Linked DNA regions of Homo sapiens: region 2 is linked to region 1. Evidence: promoter capture Hi-C in 16 types of primary human blood cells and fetal thymus (Javierre and others, 2016). All regions are on one chromosome and are shown on one strand. The core of a region is centred on a gene start or on the middle of the fragment in contact, and the rest is flanking DNA. Distances in the headings are between cores, read along the strand shown. Region 1 holds the start of GPR183 (G protein-coupled receptor 183). Region 2 has its middle 41 kb from the start of DOCK9-DT.

Region 1 (4,150 bases), core at 1,634-4,133:
TCAATAAATACCCATTAGTTAAAGAATAGCAACATTGCAGCTTTCTTAATCCTTAATGAAAGGTTCTTTATTACACCCCAGTAAGCCCTTGATGAATAATAATCAATTAAAATTACTAAGCAGAGACTGTGTTCCAGGCACTGCCCTGGGCACTCTATGTGTGTTTACTCATTGAATCCTCTCAGAACTTTCACAAGTCCATTGACAGAAGGTGAAACGGAGGCACCAGGGCACTTAAGTGACCAAAGACCTAGCTGTTAAATGTTAGGATTCAGACCCAGGCAGTTTGGCTTCAGAAGTCACATTCAGTACAATACATTTTATCTCCTATTTCCGACGTGATCTGCTATTATGGGTAGAAAACAAGTAAAATAGGAAGGCATCTCAAAACCTTAACGTACACTAACTCATACCTATCTGAACAAGAGAGACTAGGAGAACTGGGGGAAGGGAATGGGAGCAGGGAGGAAGAGATGTTGATTCAAATGAAGGAGTTTATTAGTTTATTTGTAGCATATTTTAAAGTAAGTAAAGGTTTTATAAATGGATTTAGAGTACTGTTTTAACAGTATTTTAATAATAAAACAATTTAGACTGAAATTTCGATTGAAAAAAGATGGTGAATATCTAGAATAGGCTTTTATGCTGTTAATTGATTTTTAAACTACTTTTTAGATATTTGCAGAGATTTAACAAAATATTTTTATTCTTCTCTTTGGGCTTCCAAAACACCACAGCCATCTGTGTTACTGTCACAGCTTTCAGAGGATTCTCACATGTGTTATCTCATTTTATACAATGCCCAGACTTCTTGAGAAGGTGATAAACCCCCCAGACTGGAGAACACCACGCGTCCTCTACACAGGCCACGTCCAGGGCTGCCTAACAACTCCAGCAGGTCTTAACCATAGCAGAGAGAAAAGTATCCCTGTAAACGGCTTTATTAGGTGCGAAGCTCTTTTAAATGTAAGCTTCTTGAGGATGATGACTTGATCTCATCCAACATTTTATCCTATAGAATGCTACAGAACCAACCTACAATAGATATCTAGTAAATATCTATAGAATAAATAAATGAATTAAAGTCATATAGAAACCTGAGTTAATATTTATTCCATTAACTGACTGGTCATGGTACTAATTAGCTCTAGGAAGCCAGATGAAAGTAATTTATGCAAGGGATCATTACCATTGTCACTAACGCGATACATAAACATGTGAGTGAACATTTTGTGGAGTAGCATATTCTTTGTGGTTTTATGTCCAAAAAGTGCAGTGAACCCGCAGAGAGAAAACATGCTAAAATATAAGAAGTGTGCAGTCCTACCAGTAAGCACAGTTAGATGTGTGATCATCCATAGACTCAGGGCCATTTATTTATTTATTTATTTATCTATCGAGACAGAGTCTCGCATGGTCGCCCAGGCTAGAGTGCAGTGGCGCAATCTCGGCTCACTGCAACCTCCGCCTCCCAGGTTCAAGGGATTCTCCTGCCTCACCCTCTTGAGTAGCTGGGATTATAGGTGAGTGCCACCGTGCCTGGCTAACTTTTATATTTTTAGTAGAGATGGGGTTTCACCATGTTGGCCAGGCTGGTCTCGAACTCCTGATCTCAGGTGATCCGCCTGCCTCGGCCTCCCAAAGTGCTGGGATTACAGGAGTGAGCCACCACACCCAGCCTGATTCAGGGTCTTTATGTAAAATATCCATAACATATCTGTTGGATTCACCCTCTGGTACGTCAGTGGCCAGAGAGATGGGAGAAGAATGATGGGAGACAGTTTTTTAGCACTTATAATGAGAGGCAATGTTGTAAGGACTTGGCAGTAGTAATACTCCCCATTTTACAGGTAAAGCAGCTGAAGCCAGATATTAGGTAACTTGTGTGTGGGGGGGCCACACAGCTTGTAAATTTCATTTGATCCTGATTTCAGAGCCCTTGCTCTTATTACACTATATTGTACTCAGAGTGACACCAAAAAAACAAAATACCACGCCCCCCTCCCCCAACACACACACAAACACACATATATAAAACCCTCACTGCCCTTTAAAGGAAGTCTCTTCACAGCTTCTATTTTGCCAAGTTTCTGTTACCACCATTCCCAACCTGGACATAAATGTTGCCAAAGCACTGCATAGAATTCATTGTGATTTTTTCCCCTCAGGCACATAGAAAAGATACGTTTAGTCTAAGTAAACACAAGTATAAACCACACAACAGACTTTTTTTTCACTTATCTAATTAGTAGTATTTAGCATTTAAAAAGCAAAGATTGGTACTCTTTGCTGGCGGGAGGGTAAATTGGTAAAATGTTTTTGTAGACCAAAAAGTACCGTTTTATATCTAAAGCTTTAGAAAATATACCCTTTGCCCTAGGAATTCTACCCCTGAGATTCTATCCTGAGAAATAATCTTATATTTCTAATAATTCCTATAGCATAGGAATATTCTATATTAAAATAACTTTGTTCCTTTTCCTTCATACTAAGTTATCCTGAAATATTGGCATTATTTGCATAGTTTTGCTTGATACTGTCTTTTGTCATTGTGAGTTTATACAGTAGTACATGAAGTGAGCCCTATTTTTTGACAAAGATATTTCTGGTGGACCCATCGCTTTCAGTCAACTTTATAAGAACTAACTAGACCTACCAGTCAGCAGAGAGAGTAAACTTACATTATTAATATAATTTTTGTTAGAAGTGATGGTAGCTTGTTCTTAAATAGATTGTTTTCCTTTTTACCTTTTACCTTAAAACTTAGGCTTTTAAAGTTTTTCTTTAAAAAGTTTGTTGAAAAAGCAAAAGATCTTGTACTTACATATCAGTGACTCGTTCGGGTCTCTGTGTAGTAGCTGTGAGTAGTTGTCCAAACTGAAGTAAGTTTTAACTGTGGCATGTTGTTTTAAGAGAGGCTGTGCAGACCTCCTTTTATGGTGGTGACTTTTTTTTTCTCTGTCACCCTGTGACTGAGCATGTAATGAGCAGTTAGCCTCGTGTACGTGTGTGCACTTTGTGTTTTTTTTTGTTTTAAATGGGAAGTGAAATTTTTTATAGTGATTAAAAAAAACTATCCAAAAGCCCCTTGGAATTTATGAATTGTTGATATCTGTGGAACTTTATAAATTTTTCTGTAAAGGTTTAAGTATCAAAAAATTCTTTGAAAGAGACTGAAGCAATAAACCTTAACCAAAAAAAAGACCAAGTTACTGATGATTTTATATTGATTTTGCATGTAAAAGTATGGGTTTTTAAATGTTTTAAGGAAAATAGTGTCAACTTTGACAGTGCTTTTTACCTGGAAACTTGGTATCAGGGAGTAGTTTACACATTCCACCTTATCCACAGCTTATGAGAAAGAAACAGGTTTCTGTGGCGTGGGGGTGAGTGACAGTCCAGGATGTGGAGTGGACTGGATTAGTCGCCGTTTTCAGTCGAGAGGCTGCCTGAGTCAGAGGCTGTGTGAGTACTTGAATAACAGGGAAACAGTTGAAGGGAGGCCCATTATAGATAAAATCCAGCCTCTTCAGCACAGGGTGAAAGAGACTCATGCCATTCACCTCATAGTTGTAGTTGACTCAGTTTAAACCAACTAACGTGTCTGTCAGAATGCAGTTTATTTGTAGGCTAAATTACCAGATATGTAGCACTCAGATCAGGAGAGGTGATGTTTACACTTAGTCAGGACTGATCTGGCCATTCCCAGCCACTTCTGGGTGCTGCTTTTTACGAAGACATAGATAACACCTGTGGCAGTGAGGGGCCTGGATAGCAGGTCTTAGGAGAACTGATTAAATAAGCTGGGGATGTGTATGCTTTGTAGGCATAGGGTCATTATCCTTATGCTTGTGGAAACTCTCATAGAAAAGTGTTTACATTGCTTGTGTCAGTCTTCCTAACTCCAGAGACTAGCGGGAGGGTCAGTAAGAAGTTACTGGACATAGCTTTTGGATCAAAAGATGAGAGTCATTCCCAAAAGTTGTGATTATTTTGAAAAATGGAATATGCTGTTTCTTATTTAGATGCTTGAGTAAACTTGATGATTTTGAGGGATGATGTAAACAGAATTGAATCATTTGGTAGGAATTTGTAACTCTGTGATCTCAGAAGCCTTTCTGCTCCAGGATTCTGTAAAAATAGTCGAGTA
Region 2 (4,422 bases), core at 875-3,374, 260 kb before region 1:
TCTATTTTCTTGTCCACCGGGGTAAGGGAAGGGAGCTGAGGACATCCCAGAAGGAACATGGGGTCTAAAGTAATTGCTAATAATGAAGGAGAACTTACTCCTTTACCCTGCCTCATCTTACCCACATCCTTTCCACAATCAGCCTGCCCCCTCCTTGAGGCCCTCCATGATGGGACGGCCAGCTTCAGTGTTTGCTTGTCCCCGCCCACTGCCCTACATATGCCACTACTGTAGGCAGGACAATACTGGTGTGACCATCCCTCCACACCAGCCTCAGAAGAGCACCTCATACACTGCCTGGCACCAGAGGCCTCTAATAAAAGTTTGCTGAATGAATGAATAAATGTGACTCACTCACTTACCATTTATATTTAATTACCATGTAACCCAATTGTGATTCTTATTTATATGACAGATTAGCTCTGCTCTAAAGTTATCTGCTAACAATAGCTCAGGGAGACTCAACCATGGTTTACAAGGCATGTTCAACTGCTCACGCGACACTGTTGAATGCTCGTAACAGGAAAGCCAGGGCCAACCCTGTGTATTCACTGCCCTGAGTTTTATTAAGCAAATTAATCTTAAACACAGACATTGAGTGAAGCCACCAGCCAGCCTCCTGTAATTGATTCTGGTGGAATCACTGAATCAAGAACACTGCAGGCAGTGGGTCTTATTCATGTTTGTTCCCTCAGCAACCAGCAGGATGCCTGGTATACAGTAGGACATCAATAAATGCTTATTGTGAAGTTCTTGAAGCAGCAGATGCTTCCTATAGCTGAAGTATTTCAGCTTCTAGAGACCACAGATGTCTGCCACCTGGCTGAGCACCCCAGTCAGACCCACACTGATCAGGACCACCACACCATGGCAACCAGAAAGGAACACCAGACTATTATGTATGAATACCACGATCGCTTCCTAGCTCTTATTTCAAAGTGATACAGACTACTCACTAACACTTTAAAAATGTGCAAATTTTGCCACCAAAAATAAATGAATTTGGAAATACAAAAGTTTAGAACAAAAAGCTACGGAGCTAACTTAAAAGACACAAACTTTGGGCTCCCTTATTAACAATGTGTTGAAGACAAGAGCAATCATTCTCCCCAAACTATAATACAGTGCTTAAAGCCGTAAGTAAAAGAAAAACCAAAAGGACTGTCACCTGACTGTACAGCCAGGTTCTTCCATCACATGCACAAGCTCCTCCATGCCTTCCTACCCGTGTTTCTCAGGAGCAGGACAGGATTTTACCATACTGAGAGCAGAGGGGAACTCCCACCACAATTCCAGCCCATAGACATATTCACCCACAAACCATTCAGTGGTACCCAAGTCGACAGACCTTCTTCAAGAGATGTCTCACTAAGAGGATGTGGTGGAAAGGGAATCCCTGCATGCTGTTTGTGGGACTGTAAATTAGTGAAGCCACTGTGGAAAACAGTATGGGGGTTCCTTAAAAGATTAAAAATAGGACTAGCATATGATCCAGCAATCCTACTACCGGGTACTTGCCCAAAGAAAATGAAATCGCTGTGTCAAAGCGATATCTGCACTCCCATGTTCATGGCCGCACTATTCACAACAGCTAAGATATGGAATCAACCTAAGTGGCCATCAGTGGATAAATGGATAAATAAAATATGGTGTATACCGTATATACACAATGAAATATCATTCAGGCGCAAAAGAGAAAGAAATCGTCTGCAACAACATGAACATAGAGGACATCATGTTAAATGAAGTAAGCCAGGCAAAGAAAGGCTAATACTACATGACCTCACTTAGATGTAGACTCTAAAAAAGTCAAACTTACAGAAGTAGAGAGTAGAATGGTGGTTACCAGGGGCTGGGGGTGGGGTTTGGAGAGATGTTGGTAAAAAGATACAAAATTTCAGTTAGCTAGGGGGAATACAGTATAAACATGGTGACTACAGTAAATAAATAGCTGAGAGTAGAACTGAGTTCTCACCACAGAAAATGTTAAGTATGTGAAGTATTGCATGTTACTTAGCTTGATTGAACCATTCCAATTTTAAAACATCATGTTGTATACCCTAAATATACGGAATTTTTGTCAAAAAATGCATATATAAAAAGAGATGCCTCACCAGCTTAATCATCTTTTTAAAAACAAAACAAAACAAAACAAAAAAAACAGCAGCCGGGTGCGGTGGCTCACACCTGTAATCCCAGCACTTTGAGAGGCTGAGGCGGGCGGATCATGAGGTCAGGAGATTGAGACTATTCTGGCTAACACGGTGAATCCCCATCTCTACTAAAAATACAAAAAAAAAAAAAAATTAGCCGGGTTTGATGGCACGTGCCTGTAGTCCCAGCTACTCAGGAGACTGAGGCAGGAGAATGGCGTGAACCCGGGAGGCGGAGCTTACAGTAAGCTGAGATTGTGCCACTGCACTCCAGCCTGGGTGACAGAGTGAGACTCAGTCTCAAAAAAAAAAAAAAACCAGCATCACTGTGTCTAGAATTCACAAGACAACCAGGAAATATCTTAAGCAACGACAGAAAAGGCAGAAATGTATGTCCCAACACTGAGCCCAGGCTCAGCACGGGGCAGAACAAGCCGAGCGACCTCCCACCTGGCATATCTTCACTTGGAAGGTGGGACGCACACCAACAGGTTTTGCTGGAATGATGCCCTCCTGCTTTGAGTAGGAGGATCCTTAACTCCAGGGCCATAACACATTGCACAACCAAGGGCTTGGCCTGGGCTTTGCCACTCACCCATGAGATTAACAGAGGAAGTAGTTTGTTGGTTTTGAGGTTTTCAAAAGGAGGAAGGATTTTGCGCCCAGTATGCTAACCTCCTTAGCTGCGCTCCGGAAAACAGCACTTAAAGGGTTGCCCAACTTGTGGGACTTGTCTCGACAGTAAACACCTCATAGAACATGCCTGGTTATGAGGGGGCACACCTGACAGGAAAGTCCAGGACTCACAGATGAGGGGCCTTGAAGAGCCACTGTGAATCACTGCTGTGTTATCACATACTGTGTGTAAGTGCATGGGTGTAAAATAAACACACACAGCCTGGAAACCTGTTTTATTCAGAGTATAAGCTCAGATGTCAACATCTTTCTCTGCCTAGATCTATCACTTACTTTACTTTCATTCTTACATCTAACTCCTGACCTCTTAATCCTCCTGAAGACATCACCAGAAATGTCTCATACTTCATGCCTGCGTTTAAGGTACAAAGTGTAGCTTTGGATAGGTTTTTAAAAGGTTCCTGTTTAGGTTATGCTCCAAAGGAAAGCCCATCTTGACACTTCCTCTCCCATAAGGATGAGCGTGAAGAGAGCCAAAGTTGGACGAGTCCAGGTTTAATCTCCTATCTCTGATGATTAAAAGACAAAATATTTATTTAAAACACGGCCAAACAGCCACTGACATCTGTGCAATTTTTGGTGGCTATGTTGGACTATTCATGGGGGTCAAATAAATAAAAATGGCCAAGCCTATGAGTAAACTTTTCCTCATGGTAAAGTTTCCCAAGATAATGTGCTAATTGAAATACACGCCAGCTGACCCTAGAAGTAGGGCCTATTTAGAAAATTTTAAAAGTACATATTTTTTATTTCCTCAGAAACACAGCCTTTTCTGTGTATAGATTCAGGCTCTCTCTGGATGGGGCAGAGAACCACAGGCTGAGGAGTATCAGCTGCCATCGCAGCACATAAGCACGTCTGTTACCATCAGGGTCCCCAGGTTAGAATAAGGAAATTGTCTTTCTACTTTTAAACATTCTGGGGCCTAAGAACATCTTCTTAGTCTCATTTATTTTCACTCCTTAGGTGTTGTCTGAAAATAATGAAAGTCAAACTTTTTCTGAGAATCAGTGGTTCTAATCCTTTTTTTTTTTTTTTTTTTGAGACGGAGTCTCGCCCAGTCGCCTAGGCTGGAGTGCAGTGGTGCCATCCTGGCTCTCTGTAACCTCTGCCTCCCACCTTCAAGCCATTCTCCTGCCTCAGCCTCCTGAGTAGCTGGGACTACAGGTGCACACCACTATGCCCAGCTAATTTTTTTTTTAATTTTTAGTAGAGACGGGGTTTCACCATGTTAGCCAGGCCGGTCTTGAACTCCTGACTTCAGGCGATCCACCCACCTCGGCCTCCCAAAGTGCTGGGATTACAGGCAGGAGCTACTGCGCCTGGCCCTAATCTTGAAGCATCAGCCTCAAGCAACCACCTTTCCAGGAAAGTGTCCCTGGATACAAACTCAATGTATTGTTCTCCCTCCCTTTCACTGGCCTTTTACAACTCAATTCCTGCCCTCCTGTATAATACCCAACAGCAGAGCTCCTAGGAGTCAAATCCTGGGCTCTGACACAAAGTTTCACCCTGGGCAGGCCTCCAGTTTGGGGGCAGCACCAGGGACCTCAATGTCAGCAAAATCACGAAT

Evidence for each region. Contacts are between HindIII fragments. The CHiCAGO score rates a contact against its expected background, and 5 or more counts as called.
Region 2: a fragment that was not itself captured here is called in contact with the fragment with the promoter of GPR183 in region 1 in 1 of 17 cell types (non-activated CD4 T cells); the score reaches 5.2 in non-activated CD4 T cells.

What each region holds. Positions count from the first base shown.
Region 1 is chr13:99,304,516-99,308,665 of GRCh38, forward strand. GPR183 (G protein-coupled receptor 183) reads right to left here and starts at 2,884. Exons shown (of 2, transcript NM_004951.5): 1 at 2,825-2,884. The region is part of intron 4 of UBAC2 (UBA domain containing 2); the gene reads left to right. RefSeq lists an enhancer at 1-78. The HindIII fragment of the contact is 4,315 bases long and covers 2,352-4,150 here.
Region 2 is chr13:99,043,646-99,048,067 of GRCh38, forward strand. It overlaps a transcript of DOCK9 not described here. Among named protein-coding and RNA genes, the nearest start is that of DOCK9-DT, 41 kb to the right of the region's middle. The HindIII fragment of the contact is 6,261 bases long and covers 1-4,422 here.